Regions from separate parts of the Homo sapiens genome. Here region 2 is linked to region 1. The links are contacts of gene promoters, found by promoter capture Hi-C in human tissues and cell types (Jung and others, 2019). All regions are on one chromosome and are shown on one strand. Each heading gives the region's core, a stretch centred on a gene start or on the middle of the fragment in contact. The rest is flanking DNA. Distances are from core to core; before and after follow the strand shown. Region 1 holds the start of PAX1 (paired box 1). Region 2 overlaps LINC01726 (long intergenic non-protein coding RNA 1726).

The links. The method cuts DNA at HindIII sites, captures the fragments that hold promoters and counts their contacts. A contact is called where the count stands out against the background at its distance.
Region 2: a contact is called between a fragment that was not itself captured here and the fragment with the promoter of PAX1 in region 1, in 2 of the 25 tissues and cell types used here (H1 embryonic stem cells and thymus).

The regions. Positions count from the first base shown.
Region 1 is chr20:21,702,152-21,709,917 of GRCh38, forward strand. It overlaps PAX1 (paired box 1), which reads left to right and starts at 3,513. Exons shown (of 5, transcript NM_001257096.2): 1 at 3,513-3,847; 2 at 4,287-4,916; 3 at 6,407-6,549; 4 at 7,071-7,293. The coding sequence starts at 3,562. LINC01726 (long intergenic non-protein coding RNA 1726) reads right to left here and starts at 1,434. Exons shown (of 5, transcript NR_109878.1): 1 at 1,171-1,434. RefSeq lists an enhancer at 752-1,356. The HindIII fragment of the contact is 9,805 bases long and covers 1-5,643 here.
Region 2 is chr20:21,636,584-21,644,349 of GRCh38, forward strand. The region is part of intron 1 of LINC01726 (long intergenic non-protein coding RNA 1726); the gene reads right to left. Among named protein-coding and RNA genes, the nearest start is that of LINC01726, 63 kb to the right of the region's middle. The HindIII fragment of the contact is 8,238 bases long and covers 1-6,908 here.

The sequences.
Region 1 (7,766 bases), core at 2,263-4,762:
GAAAGCGGGCCTATTAAGGCCTGAGGCTAGGACGTCGTGAGGAAGACCCGGGATCCCGGCCCTGCGGCCCCTGCGGGCTGCTGCTGGTGGGTACCAGCTTTCGTTGTTAGGCCCAAGTCTGGCCAGGGCTCTCGGGGAGTGCCACCTGTGTTTTCTGCCCTCTGTTACTTCCCGCAAGAACCGAAATGCGCACCTGTATGCCCAAGTTGGACTTAAATCAGCTTTTTCTTAAGGTTTCTCCTGGAGTCCTTGAAATGCATGGGCCCGGGGAACATCCCGGCCTATTGCTTGTTTTAACTCCCGGAAACAAACCCACCAAAAATCAAAGCCAAGTATGAGACATGAAGTGGGGGCGACTGTAGCTCCAAGAGCGGCCCTGTCACCGAACCCCTGGGTGTTTAGCAGTGTGAAGTTTCGGGTGTTGAGTTCACGGCTCAGGTGGCGTGCAGCAAGGGAGTTCTCATCAGTAACCCCCCTTGCCGCCAACCCCCAGTCCCCAGAAGGGCAGGCACCCCTTCGCGCCTCCTTTTTGACTCCCGCTTTCGGCAAAGAGTTTACCTCTCTTTCTTTTCCTGCCTTGGGAAAACTGGGCGAGGGCCCGAAGCCTCTGGGGTACCCTCAGATCCATCCTCTGCCCTGCTAGGAGTCCAGCCCCAGGCGGAGGAGTTTTGCCCCAGGTTTCTGAGTGCGCCCTCAGCTAACAGGCTCCCGCGACCCTGGAAGCGGAACTTTGTTGCACTCCGCTTCCAGAGGACGCTGAAATACGGTGCCAAACCCAGCCAAGCAAAAACGCAGAATCCGCGAGCTCTTTACCTCTGTGCGCTCAGCGCTGACTAGTAGCTGTCCCCGGGCCATGGAGAGGGCTAAGCTGCCTCCTTGGGAGGTGGGAGAGACGTTTCTTTTCCTTCTGCAATCTCATCTTAGGGCCATCTCTCACCAAGCCTAGCCTGCAGCTCGGGAACCCGCGATACCCGGCCGGGGGACGACAGGGGGCGACAAACTGTAAGGTTTTCCCTATGCCCGACCGTGCAGAAGGCTGCAGCGAGGGCTGTGTGCTCCCGATCGCGCACAGCTGGCTGCGGGAAAGGGGCCAGGATTGAGACGAAGGCTCGCGGACTCTGCTACCGGGGAGAACCACCCCCTCTCATCGTGCGCAATCCCCAGACTCACCCCTCTACAGTAGCCCCCAGCCACGGGCGGCCTTCACGGGGACGGGGGCGGAGTTTTGTCCTGGACTGCGACTCCTTGCCACTTTTCCAAGCTCGGCAGCAGAGGTGGGGTGGACGTTCCCCTGAAAGGGTAGTTGGGCGAACCAGCTCTCACGGTGTCACGACCGGCTTTATTTCCTCGTCTTTAGAGTGTGCCTGTTGACTCCTCACCTACTGGGGGGAAGAAGCGGCTTTAGCTGCTTTTCCGGATCACGAGTATCCACTGGACTGAGGCAGGGATGTGGCGTTCCTTTATCTCAGAGACTCCAAGGTCTGGAAATCAACCTTTCTTGGTATCTCGCGCCCGACGAAGCTAGCAGATTCCGCAATGGAGAGCACTGGGCAGGGTGCGTCCCCACTCCCCGCACCCCCGGAGCCCCGAGCATACTGTGCGTGCTTAGTCCTCTCTTCGCTGCCTTCGCGGAACTCCTGGCTTAGGCGTGCCCACTTTAATCCAAACCATTCCCTTTCCCTGTTCCTTACTCCAAACCTACGCTGTCATGGACAGGCCTAATCTTCTACATAGCTTCCCCTGCTCCCACTCTCGCACCCTCCTGCCAGTGCACTGACCCTCAAACCTCCTCCAGGTCTCCAGGACCTCCCAGAGCCAGAGACTGTACTGTGTTCATGCCGCCGGAGAGGAAGAGTTCACTTCTTTTAAACCTGATTTTTCTTTTTCCAGGAGTAATTCTTGTCTGTGGCCCCACCGCGTGCTCTCTCTAGAGAGTCCAGGAATTATGAGCCAGTCACTCCTGACAGATACATTTAGACAGGTGGATTAGGAGCCAGGGATGCTCTCTGGCCCTACAGCGGAGGCAAAGGGGTCGGGGCCTCCGCAGCCATGGCTCCCCAGGGTGGGCTGATAGGGTCCATGTGCTCCTCAGCCACTGTCACCGCGCTGGCGCCATACTCAACTCTGGGTGGCTAAGGAGAGCTAGACCCTTGGGGTGGGCAGGAGGGAGGGGAAGAGGGTTCTCTCCTCCAGGGGAGCGCTGGGAGTCTCAGAAACCTCGGCTGTTCCTACTCTCTCCCCTATGCCCTCTTCCTGGTCTAGCACATTCAGCCCAATGCCTTTGGTGCTTACTGGGCTCAACCTCAGAGCTCTCAGATCCTGACCCCCTCAAATCAGTTCATGTTCAAAACCACGAGTTTCCTCCTCTTGGCCCTCACCGCATGGCTCCCGGACACAGTTAGCTGCACAGGTTGGGGAGTTCAGAACTGCTTTGGTGCAGGGTAGAAACAGAGAAATTGTTGATGTTCAATCTCAGGGGTGAATAATTCAGGGCTGCGCAAAACCTCATTTAAATGAAGGAGAAATGACCATTCTGTGGTTTAACAGAGACTTCCTGAAGCTGCAGGTGCTGGGAGAAAGACGAGGCCAGGCCACCTGGGATAGAGTGGTGCGAGATTCCACCGCCAGGGAGAAAGGAACTTGTCCTTCAGACCTAGAGCTGGAGCTATGCATTTGGCCTCCCGCCGGTCGCGCTTGGGGACAGGAGGGCGCCGGATCTATGCGCCCCTTAGCAGCAGATCGGGATCCTTTTGCCTCCTGCCCCTTCTGTCACTGCTTGGAGAGGGATGAGTTCTGGTGGCTGGGCCTGGCTGTAGGAGACAGGATTTGGACCGTGCCCCTCTCGCATCACCGAAATCACCCCCACTATTCCAAGAGTGGTTGGCTATTAAACGTGAAGATTTCCTGAGAGAAGGATTGAGGACCTGGCCAGGAATGGGACACAAGTTCCGCCTTGTGTCTTCCTGACAGGAGCCCTGCACCGCGCTGGACGCTCACCTTGACACTCCCAGCCAGCTGGGGTACTGATCCCACCCTTCCCCGGCCGCTGCCCCGGGAGTGGGGAGGTAGAGAGAGCCACACCCGAAACACCTTTCCACGATAAACTTTTATTCTCTATCTTATTATTAATGGTGGCGGAAATAAAACTAAAACCAAAACGAAAACGAGTACTAGTACTAACACACTAATCAATTTGAGATGACTTCCCCCTCATTCCCAAAGCTAGAGGAGGAAGGGGGCTGAAAGGGGCTCAGAGCAGTGGAAGGTCCCAGGCCCAGCTGGGGTTGGGACGTGTGTGTGTGTGTGTGTGTGTGTGTGTGTGTGTGTGTGTGTGTAGAGGGGTGGGTTCCGGGGGGGTGGTGGAAGAGGGCCGAGGGGGGAGGATAGAAGGAGGGGGTAGAGTTTCAGGGCGGGGAGGGGGGCGCTGGGGCGCAGTGACGGGAACCAATGAGCTGCCAACTCGCGCGTCTCCGGCGTGACTGCCGAGATTGACGTGGAGGACACGTCAAATTGATTCCCGCACGCTGCAGCCTCCCGGTCAGACGAATTTCTCCCAATCGGATGAAGTTCACCCTGGGCCTGGGGTCGCGGGCGTGGAGAGTGTCCTGGGAGGGGGCAGCAGCGGCGGCGGCAGGCCCTGGAGCGGGCGGCAGCGCGCTCCGCTGCCGCGCACAGCGCGTCTCCAGCCCGCGGCTGGGCCGCCGCGGCTCTCGGCTCTCGGGCGCCCTCCCTCTATGCCTCTCACGCGGCGGCGGCGGCGCCCAAGCTCTCCCGGACTGCGCCGGGCCCAGCCCCGGCCACCCCGGCCACCCCGGCGCCAGGCAGCTGGCCGGCCCGCTCGCTATGGGTAAGGGGCGGGCGACAGGCAGGGCTCGGGAGGGCTGATGAGGTGGGTCGGGTCCGCCTGCCTCCCTTCCCTCTCGTCCGCTTTCCCTGGGCGACCCAGTCCTGGGTCCTGGAGAAGCTGCATTCTCCTCTGATCCCCAGCCTTCAGGGGGCAGTTGAGCAAGTCTGGGAAGGGAGTGTTCCAAGTAGACGCGCTAAAAGTCGCGAAAGGGCACGGAGGGCTACAATGCGCCGCGCTCCACTCCGCGGCTCCTCTGCGCCCTTGCCCACTCCAAGCCAGACCCAGGCGGTTTGCCCTTGGACTCCGAGCTGTCTGGGGACCCACAGGTCACCTTTGGAAGTGCGCCTGGGTGCAGTCCCTCGCTCCGCGTGGGGACCCTTGGCTAACCCGCCGGGTGTTTTCTCCCCCTCCGGCTCACTCTTGTCTGGCGCATCCGCAGAGCAGACGTATGGCGAGGTGAACCAGCTGGGCGGTGTGTTCGTCAACGGCCGCCCCCTGCCCAACGCCATCCGCTTGCGCATTGTGGAGCTGGCGCAGCTGGGCATCCGACCCTGTGACATCAGTCGGCAGCTCCGCGTATCCCACGGCTGCGTGAGCAAGATCCTGGCGCGCTACAACGAGACCGGCTCCATTCTGCCCGGGGCCATCGGGGGGAGCAAGCCCCGCGTCACCACTCCCAACGTGGTCAAGCACATCCGGGACTACAAGCAAGGAGACCCTGGCATCTTTGCCTGGGAGATCCGCGACCGGCTGCTGGCCGACGGCGTCTGTGACAAGTACAATGTGCCTTCGGTGAGCTCCATCAGCCGCATCCTGCGCAACAAGATCGGCAGCCTGGCGCAGCCCGGACCGTACGAGGCAAGTAAGCAGCCGCCGTCGCAGCCTACGCTGCCCTACAACCACATCTACCAGTACCCCTACCCCAGTCCCGTGTCGCCCACGGGCGCCAAGATGGGCAGCCACCCCGGGGTCCCGGGCACGGCGGGCCACGTCAGCATCCCGCGCTCATGGCCCTCGGCACACTCGGTCAGCAACATCCTGGGCATCCGGACGTTTATGGAGCAAACAGGTCAGTTGTGGCGGCCTCCGTAGCCTTCTATTAAGGGGCAGAACCTGGGGCGGGCAGGCTTGCAGGAGAGGACTCACACTCGCTCTCCTCCCGGGACCGGTTCTGGCTCAGGGGAGGGCTCCACACTGGCCAGGGAGGCTGGGGGTCCTGGGCCTTTTGTAAGAGACCTCGGACATCTTGAACTTTTTATGACAAATATGGAAAATATTTCCCAAATAGAAGAGCAATCGCCGACCACAAATTTGGAGGCCTGAAATTGTGCTTTTTCATTCTTGCAAAAAGTATGCAAGCCCCTGTTGCCAAATCTAAGGGGGAAAAAAACCCGCTCAATTTTGAGACCCTTTCTTTAGCTCTCAGAATCCTTCACGATTTCCCAAGGGTTCTGTCCCCCACTCCCAGGCCCAGTGGCTCTTCTGAGTTAAAGGAAAAGGGATCTTGTGGTCGATTGAGTGGCCTACATCTCTAAGGTCCTGTGGCCTTGCAGGTCCTGGAGTTTGCGGTGATGGCTGGTGGGGCTGCAGCCACCTTCACAAGGATTTGTCATTTATCTGCAACTAAAGCTTAACACACTATAGGTCAAGTGGGTGACGAGGAAGATGGGGAAGGCGGGAGGTTTGGAACAACTTTGATGCCTGGCTGGGAAAGAAACCAGCCAGAATCGGGTCTGGATTTCTTTGCGCTCTCCCCAGCTGCCAGCAGCTGGCCAGGGGATGGCACACTCTTAGGTGATCAGACTCAGGAGGAGGGCAAGAAGCAAAATTCACCATAGCCTAGGAGGAAAGAGTGGTGGCTGGAAAGAAACTGTGAGTGCTCAGCTCCAGCAGCAGCAGCGCCTCTGTGGCCCTGCTCTGGCTTTGTGTCTCCTGGTGGCTCTAACCCAGCCTAAGGCTAAAGCTTCCCATGGAATGGCAGGGGTCTGGAGGTGACCCCACCAAGCCTGCACGCAGATCTGGAGGTTTCCCTTGGTTCCTGGCACACACAAGGGCCCGGGGAGCAGCTGTGTGCTTCTATCTGACCCGTGGGGACAACAATGTTGACGCTTCTTTTGGGAAACCCTGGGCGTTTCCAGAGGCAGTTCTCGTAGAATCGTCTCCCTGCCCTCCAGAGGCTTGTGCAGATGTTGAGAAATCAATACAATTTTCATGAGGTTGCTGTAGCTTTGAACTCGGAAGTTTCTGGGAGCCGTGTCTGGACAATGGAGCGGCCGCTTTGGCCGAGTCTGCCCAGGCTTTGACTCAGCAGCAGCCTCCCGTTCGTGGGAAACCGGTTGAAGGCTAGGAGGACCGGGCAGCAGGCCTGGCTGCCTTTCCTCCGCCCCACCCGGAGTGGTGAACATTCCAGTCCCTGCCGCCTCCTGGTGGAGTGTCAGGCCACCTACAAATTTTGTGGGACCCCTGGCCGTGTCTTCAGATACAAATTGGGTGGTTGGCCACACGTGTGCCCAGGGCAGATTCGGAGGCACCTTTTAATCCGTCCTCTCTCTCCTGCAGGGGCCCTGGCTGGGAGCGAAGGCACCGCTTACTCTCCCAAGATGGAAGACTGGGCCGGCGTGAACCGCACGGCCTTCCCCGCCACCCCCGCAGTGAATGGGCTAGAGAAACCTGCCTTAGAGGCAGACATTAAATACACTCAGGTAACCAGGAGGCACGTGAGGCCGTGACCTTAAGTAGGGAAGCAGAAGGTTTGGGCAAGTGGGGAAAAAGAGAGAGAAAGAAAAGAAAAAATTTCCAGGCAGAGAGATGGTTGTATCTGGCAGCCGGCTAGCAAGCGTCCTTTCTGTCCTTTCCTCAAGCGTACTAGTTTGGGAGAGTCTGACTTTAGAGGGGTTGACTTGCCTTTGCCAAGATAGCTTAGCTAAAAAAAGCTGGAACTCCAGATGACGAATCCACAGTCAAGGGCCTTCTTTCTCTAAATCCCGATATGAATACCATGACCCCTTCACATCGTTATTTGTAACAGTTTGAGTGAATTCTTAGAAATCACTTTGCCAAAGAGTCCTGACTAGGAAATTTAGAGGCCAGGCCTCGCATGGGGATAATGGATGGGCACAGGACGTGGGGGAGCGATAATGGACGAAAACCCCCGTCTCAGTGATGGCGTGGGCTAGAGAAGGCAGGATTTTCTGCTGCTGACGGTCCCTCTCTATCCCCACAGTCGGCCTCCACCCTCTCTGCCGTGGGCGGCTTTCTCCCCGCCTGCGCCTACCCGGCCTCCAACCAGCACGGCGTGTACAGCGCCCCGGGCGGCGGCTACCTCGCCCCGGGCCCGCCGTGGCCGCCTGCGCAAGGTCCTCCTCTGGCGCCCCCCGGGGCCGGCGTAGCTGTGCATGGCGGGGAACTCGCGGCAGCAATGACCTTCAAGCATCCCAGCCGAGAAGGTGAGGAGCGCAGGGAGTGGGGCGGGTGGATGCTGGAAGGGTTAGGAAGGGTACTGGGGAGCGGGTGTGAGCCTGGGAAAAGGGAGAGCGGGTGGGGAAGAGGTGGGTCCTGGGCATGAACCCTTCTTCTGGGTTAACCTTTGAGCATGTAGCTTCTTGGAGCAGATTAGTTCTGACAGGTGTCCCTATAAAGGTACCCGAGGTTGAGAGAGACTGGCCCCAAGACTGTCCCCTCCACTTATGATGGGAGAGGTGAAAGGAGGTCCTTCTGGCACACAGGACGCGTGGGTTTGGATCCGGTTCTGGCACCTTCGACCAAGTTCCTGCTTCTTTCTGGGTTTCTGTTTCTCCATCCAGAGACACGTCTAGCAGGCACCCTCCAGGCTCACCTTTCTGTAGACCTGTTCTGGCACCTAAGCCCTTTAGGTGGGGTTGGACTTGCTAGTGGCACCTAACCTCCATCCCCAGACCCT
Region 2 (7,766 bases), core at 1,540-4,039, 66 kb before region 1:
AAGTATATACCCAAAGGAATATAAATCATGCTACTATAAAGACACATGCACAGGTATGTTTATTGTGGCACTATTCATAATAGCAAAGACTTGGAACTAACCCAAATGTCCATCAATAATAGACTGGATAAATAAAAGGTGGCACATATACACCATGGAATACTATGCCACCATAAAAAAGGAAGAGTTCATGTCCTTTGCAGGGACATGGATGAAGGTGGAAACCATCATTCTCAGCAAAATATCACAAGGACAGAAAACCAAACACCGCATGTTCTCACTCATAAGCGGGAGTTGAACAATGAGAACACATGGACACAGGGAGTGGAACATCACACACAGGTGTGGGGGGAGGGGGGAGGGATAGCATTATGAGATATATCTAATGTAAATAATGAGTTGATGGGTGCAGCAAACCAACATGGCACATGTATACTTGTGTAGCAAACCTTCACGTTGTGTACATGTACGCTAGAACTTAAAGTATAATAATAATAATAAAAAGAAAATCACTTTCCTCTATGTGTTTTATGTGGAACCAATGCTGCCTAAATCCTGCAGTGCATACGCAAGTTGGTGTTGGCCAACCAGAGCATCCTTACTGCTCTACACCATGATAGATTTAGGGTTGGCCCATCATCAGGCCAGATTCGTGAGAACTCCATCCTAGACTTATACTAGAACCGTCAAGGAAAAATAGTCCTCCTTGCACTGAGGCCACTAATCCTGGCACTGCAGACATCATTCTCAGCCCTCTAAGGATACAACCCCCCTAAGAAAGCAGAACTGAGAGATGGAGATGGCATCATTTGAGCTCCTGGTGCCTGAAGCTAGAAGACTGCTGGAATTTTTAGTTAAGTGAGCAATATATCTCCTATTTCTTTGAGCTAATATAAGTTTGGCTTCTGCCCTTTACAGTTACAAGAGCATTGCATAATTCCATTCATTTTTGTCTCCCTCTCTATGGAAAGAGTGGCTAGGATGGGTTAAAACCGGTAGTCAAGAGGACAAGTAGCAGAGGTGAGGACCAAGGGGATGAACTAGGGGATTCTTCCTCCACCCCCAGAGATAAGAAGGCGGGCTCGGAAAGCTGCGGTATTCACCGCCACTCCTGCCTGTCTGTGGCTGAGTGTGTCACTAGGGGTAACTCCCCAGCACTTCCAGGGAGAATGCCCTGATGCAGTGATTCCGGAAGCCAAGAATAAGCACAGGGACAGTTCCCGGTGGGAGATGTGGCAGGCCTGGCAGAGACTGGCTCAGAGGTCACAGCACTGTCCAACTCTGCTTCATCTCTCTCTTAAAAAACCCAAACAAACAACACTTTATTGAGGGATGATTAACATACAATAATCTATATATATGTTATTAAAAGTTTTTATTTTTGATTTTCATGGGTACAAGGTTGTACATATTTAATGCATGCAACTTGGTATGTGTGGAGATAAGTATGCAAGGTGAAACCATCACCACAATCAAGGCCATAACCATATCTATCACCTCCCAAATTGTCCTTGTCCCCTTTTTATTTATTTGTTTTTGTGATAAGAACACATAACACAAGATCTATCCTCTTAACGAATTTTTAAGTACACAATACAGTATTGCTGGCTATGGACACTCTGATGTACAGTAACTCTTTAGGACTTACTCATCTTTATAACCAAAACCTTGTGCCCTTTGACTAATACCTTTCTCTTTTCCCCTCCCCTCAGATCCTGGCAACCATCACTCTACTCTTTGCTTCTGAGTTTAATTATTTTAGATTCCTCATGAAAGTGGTATCTTGCAGTAATTTTCCTTCTGTATCTGGCTTATTTCACTTAGCGTGGTGTCCTCCAGGTTCCTTCATGTTGCTGCGAAGGCAGGATTTCCTCCTTTGTTAAGGCTCTTTTGTATGCATCCGTTACATACTCATACTCTGCTTCGTCTCTTGAATGCTGCCTCCCAAGATGCTCATTTTATGCATGCCCTCTTCCCTCAATCATGCATCTTCTCTTTGCCCACTTCTCTTAAAGTATAAATCTCTCTCGTCCCCATCAAAACTTGGCTATCTGGTGTTCCAGTCTGCTAACATTCAGCTAGCCAAGGTAGCACTTTGTAATAAACCAGGGGTTCCAACCACACACCAGATTTTATATTGAATGACCCTAATGCTTAAAATGGATAAAAGTGGAGCTGCCTGTCGGAGGGCCAGCAGGCTCCACGTCCTGTGTGCATGGCCTCACTGGCCTGCTGTGTGCTGGTCTGGAGGTGCCCTTCGGTATGGTAGCATCCTTATTGCAAGTGAGAAACTAGTCTCCTCTGAATCTTTGATTTCAAAAGAAATAAATTTGGAGCCTTTTTAGATGGGTCGGAGAAGAAAACGAAGGTGAGAAAAGTCAACCAAAGCATGAACATTCCCTGGCAAACTCACAGCAGGGTGTGGTTTGGAGCCAGCCTTGAACCCTGCATGCTTCCAAAATGGCACCTCCTCTCAGGTTTTGTCTTCACAGGCTCCTGGTGGAGCCCAACGTTTCATGGGAATTGGCTACACTTGGAGAGCCACAAGCATGTGCCATGTGCCCAGCATTAACTGTCATTATCTCCTTGAATCTGAACAATGCTCCAAGTAGCATTGTTAATGCCATTGTGCAGATAAAGACTTTGATCCTCCATATGGACAGTGGAATAATGAGGCCTATCTTGTTCTCTCTTCTGTTAAGGTCTGTGTTAGCTTGTCTTAGAGATGGTGCCTACAGTCCTCCTCTCCACATAGGCTTTTATCATTCTTCCTGTTGATAGGTGGAATCTGTTTCCTGCTCCCTGAATCTGGGCGAGCCTGTGACTTGCTTTGATCAGTAGAATGAAGCAGAAGTGACACTGTGTCAATTCCAGGCCTAGTGGTTGAGAGATCTGGGAGTTTCTGTGTTGGCCCTCCTGGAAGTGGGCTGCTGTGCTATAAGAACATCCATGCTATCCTGGTAGAGTGATGCCATGGGAAGAGGCCCTGGGGGATGAGTCAATATGTGGAGGAAGAGGGCACCCAGCAGCACATGCAGGTGCAGATACCTGACAGAAGCTGTCTGGGAGGCTCTAGTCCCACCCAGATGAACACAGGTGTGGCCACAGCTGACATGGTGTAGCTTTAATAGCTTGTTTTAGTTTAATAATAAATTGTTTCAAGCTGCTACATTTTGAGGTGGTTTTTTATGCAGCAATAAATAACTGTAAGAGTTTGCCTCTCCGGAGCTTGCAGTGAGCCAAGATCCCACCACTGCACTCCAGCCTGGGCGACAGAGCGAGACTCCGTATCAAAAAAAAAAAAAAAAAAAAAAAAAAAAAAAGAGTTTGCCTCTCTTTTCACTGAAAATTAACTTCTTGTGGCAAATGGTCAGCTCTGATGTTTTTCAAAATTAGGAACAATTGAGCTATATTCTTCCTGGAGCAATGGCAGACAACGAATTGGAACCAGGAAAAGCCCAACTTTAAACCCTGGCTTCCTGAGAAAATCAGCATCAACTTCACTCCCTGCAGTCCATTCTAGCCAGATTTTGTTTGGTAGTGGCGGTGGTCTGAGCTCATAGCCAGGAAATTTGAATGCAAAAATTTCCACTTTTGGTGGGTTGTGACACAGTCTACATTCTACTTTGGGAAATACTTGTGTTTTCCAAGGATAGCTTAGTTTATCATGTGAGATTCTGCTTCAGTGGCCATCCTTATGCTGATACTATGTGAAGAGACAGGATTGTCTTTCATCTTAGAAAGATCTAGATGACGTTTTTGCTTTGCTAAGGGGTGGGATTTTAGGCCCTGGCAAAGGCAGGTAACCTAACAGATGCCTCATGGATAAAAATTCTGCAGAAGCAAGGTGCTTGGGAAGGTGGGCCTGGAATAGTAGTTTTTCTCTGAATGTGGGGTAGTTCATCTCTCTATGTCAATTTTTATTGGGTAGGGCTTGCCTGCCTTTATGTTTTTAAAACAAATGTTGGTTCTATATTTGAACTCCCTGAGCCAACTTTGATGAGGGGCAGGAAGACAGAGCCAAGATGGCAAAAGCATTCTGCAGGCATCGATTCCCTACATGGTGGCTTCTCATGTGATCATTTTCCAGCCCCTGGAAGCCTTTTGGGAACTCGGAAGCACTTATCCTCAGACATGTGGCTCATTCTTGTTTCCTCCAGGAGCCAATAGGTGGTAGCAACGGGCCAGCAAAGAAGCACCTGCTAAGGTGGGTGGTTCAGCCTAGCTGTCAAGGCGATAGAAGCAGCTATGTGGTTTAAGTCAAAGAATACCTCTAGAGAAGAACTTTAAGTCTGAATGTATGTGATGCAGACACTAGCTTCTCAAAACAGCCTGGCTTAGCACAGACTCCATCTTCCAAGGATTTTTCATCTCTCTGAATATCTCTCTAGAATATCTATCTACCTTCTTGGCAGATGGGAGTAGCCAGGCACATTGGGAGTAGCCAGGCTGCATCTGAGCACCTGCCAAATGGTGTGCAGCCTTTGGGGGCTGTGAACACATGCCAGTTGTGCTCCTTTCCCTGGTAGGGCCTGACCATACCCTGGGCATGTGGTCCAAGCCCAGAAAGGTGCGGGGAGGCACAAAGATGCAAACAGCTGGATGGGCAAACACAGGCACAAACATCCCATGAGCACTGACTGTGGGGATATGTGGAGGCTGTGAGGATGAGAAAGACATGATGGAAGGATGATGAGGCAGGGATTGGCATGAGGCTGGGCTGCTCAAGGAAGGTTTGGTGAAGATGTGGAGTTTGGGAAGAATTTGGAAGAAGGAACCCAACTTGGTGGGGAAAAAATACTGTGGAGGTGGAGGAAGCATCGGAGGAGCTGCTGTGATGGACTTTGATTGGTTCAGCCGATGAGAAGTCTCGGGCCAAAGCAGCTGTTGACTAGGGGGGTACCTGGGAGCTGATGGTGAGAAACATTAGTGTGCGGATTCCTGTGCACCAGGTTATGGCCCATCGGCGGGGGCAGCCGCGTCAGTGTGGATAATATGAATGTCATCAGCAAACCAGATTCAGAGGCACTCACAAAGCTTGACTTGCCTGACACCTTTTATCCCACATTCCTGTTGTCGAATAAATATCTTTCAGGCCTTCAGAACTTTCTAGACTCAAGTCTTTATTAGAAAAGGTGGCATCATAAAGAGTCTATCACAGTCTCTAGGGGGCCTCCTGTAGCTCCGCTGACCCCTATTACTGCAGGTGTTCCGTACATCTTCTATTTGGTGTGATTTACACAGACTCACAAGGTGAAGAACCCCACTGGGATAAAAAGACCAGAGATGTCCCAACTTGGGGGCAATGATTTGCTTTTTAAGAACAATGTCTTTCAAATGTTATTGACCACAAGTTATACAAAAAAATACATTTTTACCATATAACCCGGTATACACATTTTAATGTGCAATTCGTAATTGAAATTAAAAGTTCATTAAACAATTTTCACTTTGTATTATATCTTTTTTATTTTTTAAAAAGCTGACAGTGACACACTAAATGGATCTGATAACCCCAGCAGTTTTCTTTTTACAGTTTGTATCTTTCTTTCCAACCAAGATACCTCTGGGTTGACTTCTAAAAACAGATGCTCTCACTTCTTCAGAGACCGCCATTAACCTGCTTCTTGTGATCACTTGACTGGGTACTGGGCAGAAGTTTGTCTTCTCGATAAGAAAGAGCAGTGCTCAGCAGATTGAGAGAACAAATTGTAGAACTTAAGACAAAAACAGTGACAGAAAGCCTAGAAGCAAGGATTTGATTTATTCACATAGAGTTGATGTGATTATGTGTTTAGCATGTAATTGCCTTGGTTGCTTTCTTTGGGAGCGTTTCTCCCCCATCCCCCACCTGTATTTTAAAAACCTTAGGGTCAAGGAGCAGGCAGTATAGCCTAAAATAGGCTTGTGGTACCAATGTCATGAACCCTTCCTAAGGGACGTGAGTTTGCAGCTCCTAGTGTCTTTCTGGGCATTGTGCAGCAAAATAGTTAAAAAGCCAGAACTCCAGCTTTCCAACACTGAGCATGGATCCCAGCTCCTCCATGTCTTTTCTGTGTGAACTTGTATAACTTCAACTGTCTGTGCCTCAGTTTCTTTACCTGCATGGGGCAATAATCACAGTACCTACACCACAGGGTTACTGAAAAGACCAGAGGAGAGAATGCTGTAACATGAGCTCAGTGCTGGGGACATGTGAGTGTCACCTGTTGGTATCTGATAGGGCTCCCTGAGGCTTCCTGTTAGACAATATCTTTTTACCAGCCTACTTCCAGCAATAGGCTGGAAGTGATAATAAAAGCATATTCCTTTCTTTAAAAAACCCTATAAACCTAAACTTTTAATAAATTCTGATAGGCCTTTCCATCAATAGACTGGCTTTTCGAGTCTCATAAGATAAGCTAATTTTTGGAAAAGTTTTGCTTGTTAATATCTCACAGCCAACCCAGAGTCAGTAAAATCAACAGAGAAATGAAATACAGGCAGGTTAACAAGTTTCAGCAATGTGTCACAGTGGAACCCTTTAAAAAATACTGACCAGGCTACAGTGTCAGTAAGATTCCAAATTATTGTCTAATAGTCATCACTTTCTTGAACTACATAGGAATGGACTAGATAAAAAAAATACACTTAGAAAATCAACATAGTTTTACTCATAAGAGATTGCATGAAAGAACTTACCTTGAGATGTTCATGGCAAGCAACATGATTCCATATACTGACAAATTTTATTTTTCCATTTGTGGCATTTTCTCCCCTAATAACTGCTCTGTTGTGACCATGGGAATGTCAGGTATATAAAAATACCCAAATAATGAGCCCTCTCCTAAAATGATAAAGAAAACCAATTTTTTTATTTCTCCTTGTCCTCTCCAGCCCAGCTTCATACTGACCTTAAAACTTTGGGCAATAAACCTGTCATATAGTGTTGCGTGCTTGGTTCCATCAGCATTTTTTGGTGTGTGTGTGTGTGTGTGTGTGTGTTAGCCAAAACAAACAGCGTATTGTCTACTACGAACATGCAAGGACAAGTTTTTTGGAGGAGCTTGGGTAAGCGTTGTGCAGGGACTTAAATTTCGGCTTCATGTGCATGACGGTTGAAGGCTCCCTTGTCAGTCAGCCTGGGGCAGCACAGGAAGGGGGAAGAAGGTGAGAGAAGGAAAGCAGTTGTCTCCTAGGAATACAATGAAAGGTGGGGCTGAGGGGAAAGAAAGGAGAAGGAAAGACATACAGGAGGCCTCTCTGACCTAACAGGACACCAGTAATCCGTGTTGCTTTCCAAGATCCCTGGGATTAGCACAAACACAATTGATGCGTATTCCGCAGGTGCCTAGTATGGAGGCTTCCTCAGGCTACCTGAGAGGAATAATTTTCCTCTTGTGAGATGCTCTGTCTAAATCCACTTTGATTATTTTTCTGGGGTTCGCTGTGGTTGCATTAAGATTTCTAAGGTAGGAGGCATTATTGTTTCTTCTCTCTGTCTTGCACCTGCTAAAGGTGATCAGTCACTTCCTATCTGGAAAACCTAACCTTCCACCCCATCGTCACCCTAGCCCAGGCCCATATCCTTCCTTAGCTAGATAATGGCAGTGGTCTTGTCTCCTATACCTGTTTCCTGTGTCACCTTTTCAACTTGTTCTCCCTCTTGGAATCATAATCATCCTTCTAAAATGAAACGCTGACCATGTTATTGTTGTAAGCTCATGGACATCCACTGCCTTCACAGTGATATTCTAACTCCTTAGCATGGCGTGCGAGACCTTTCA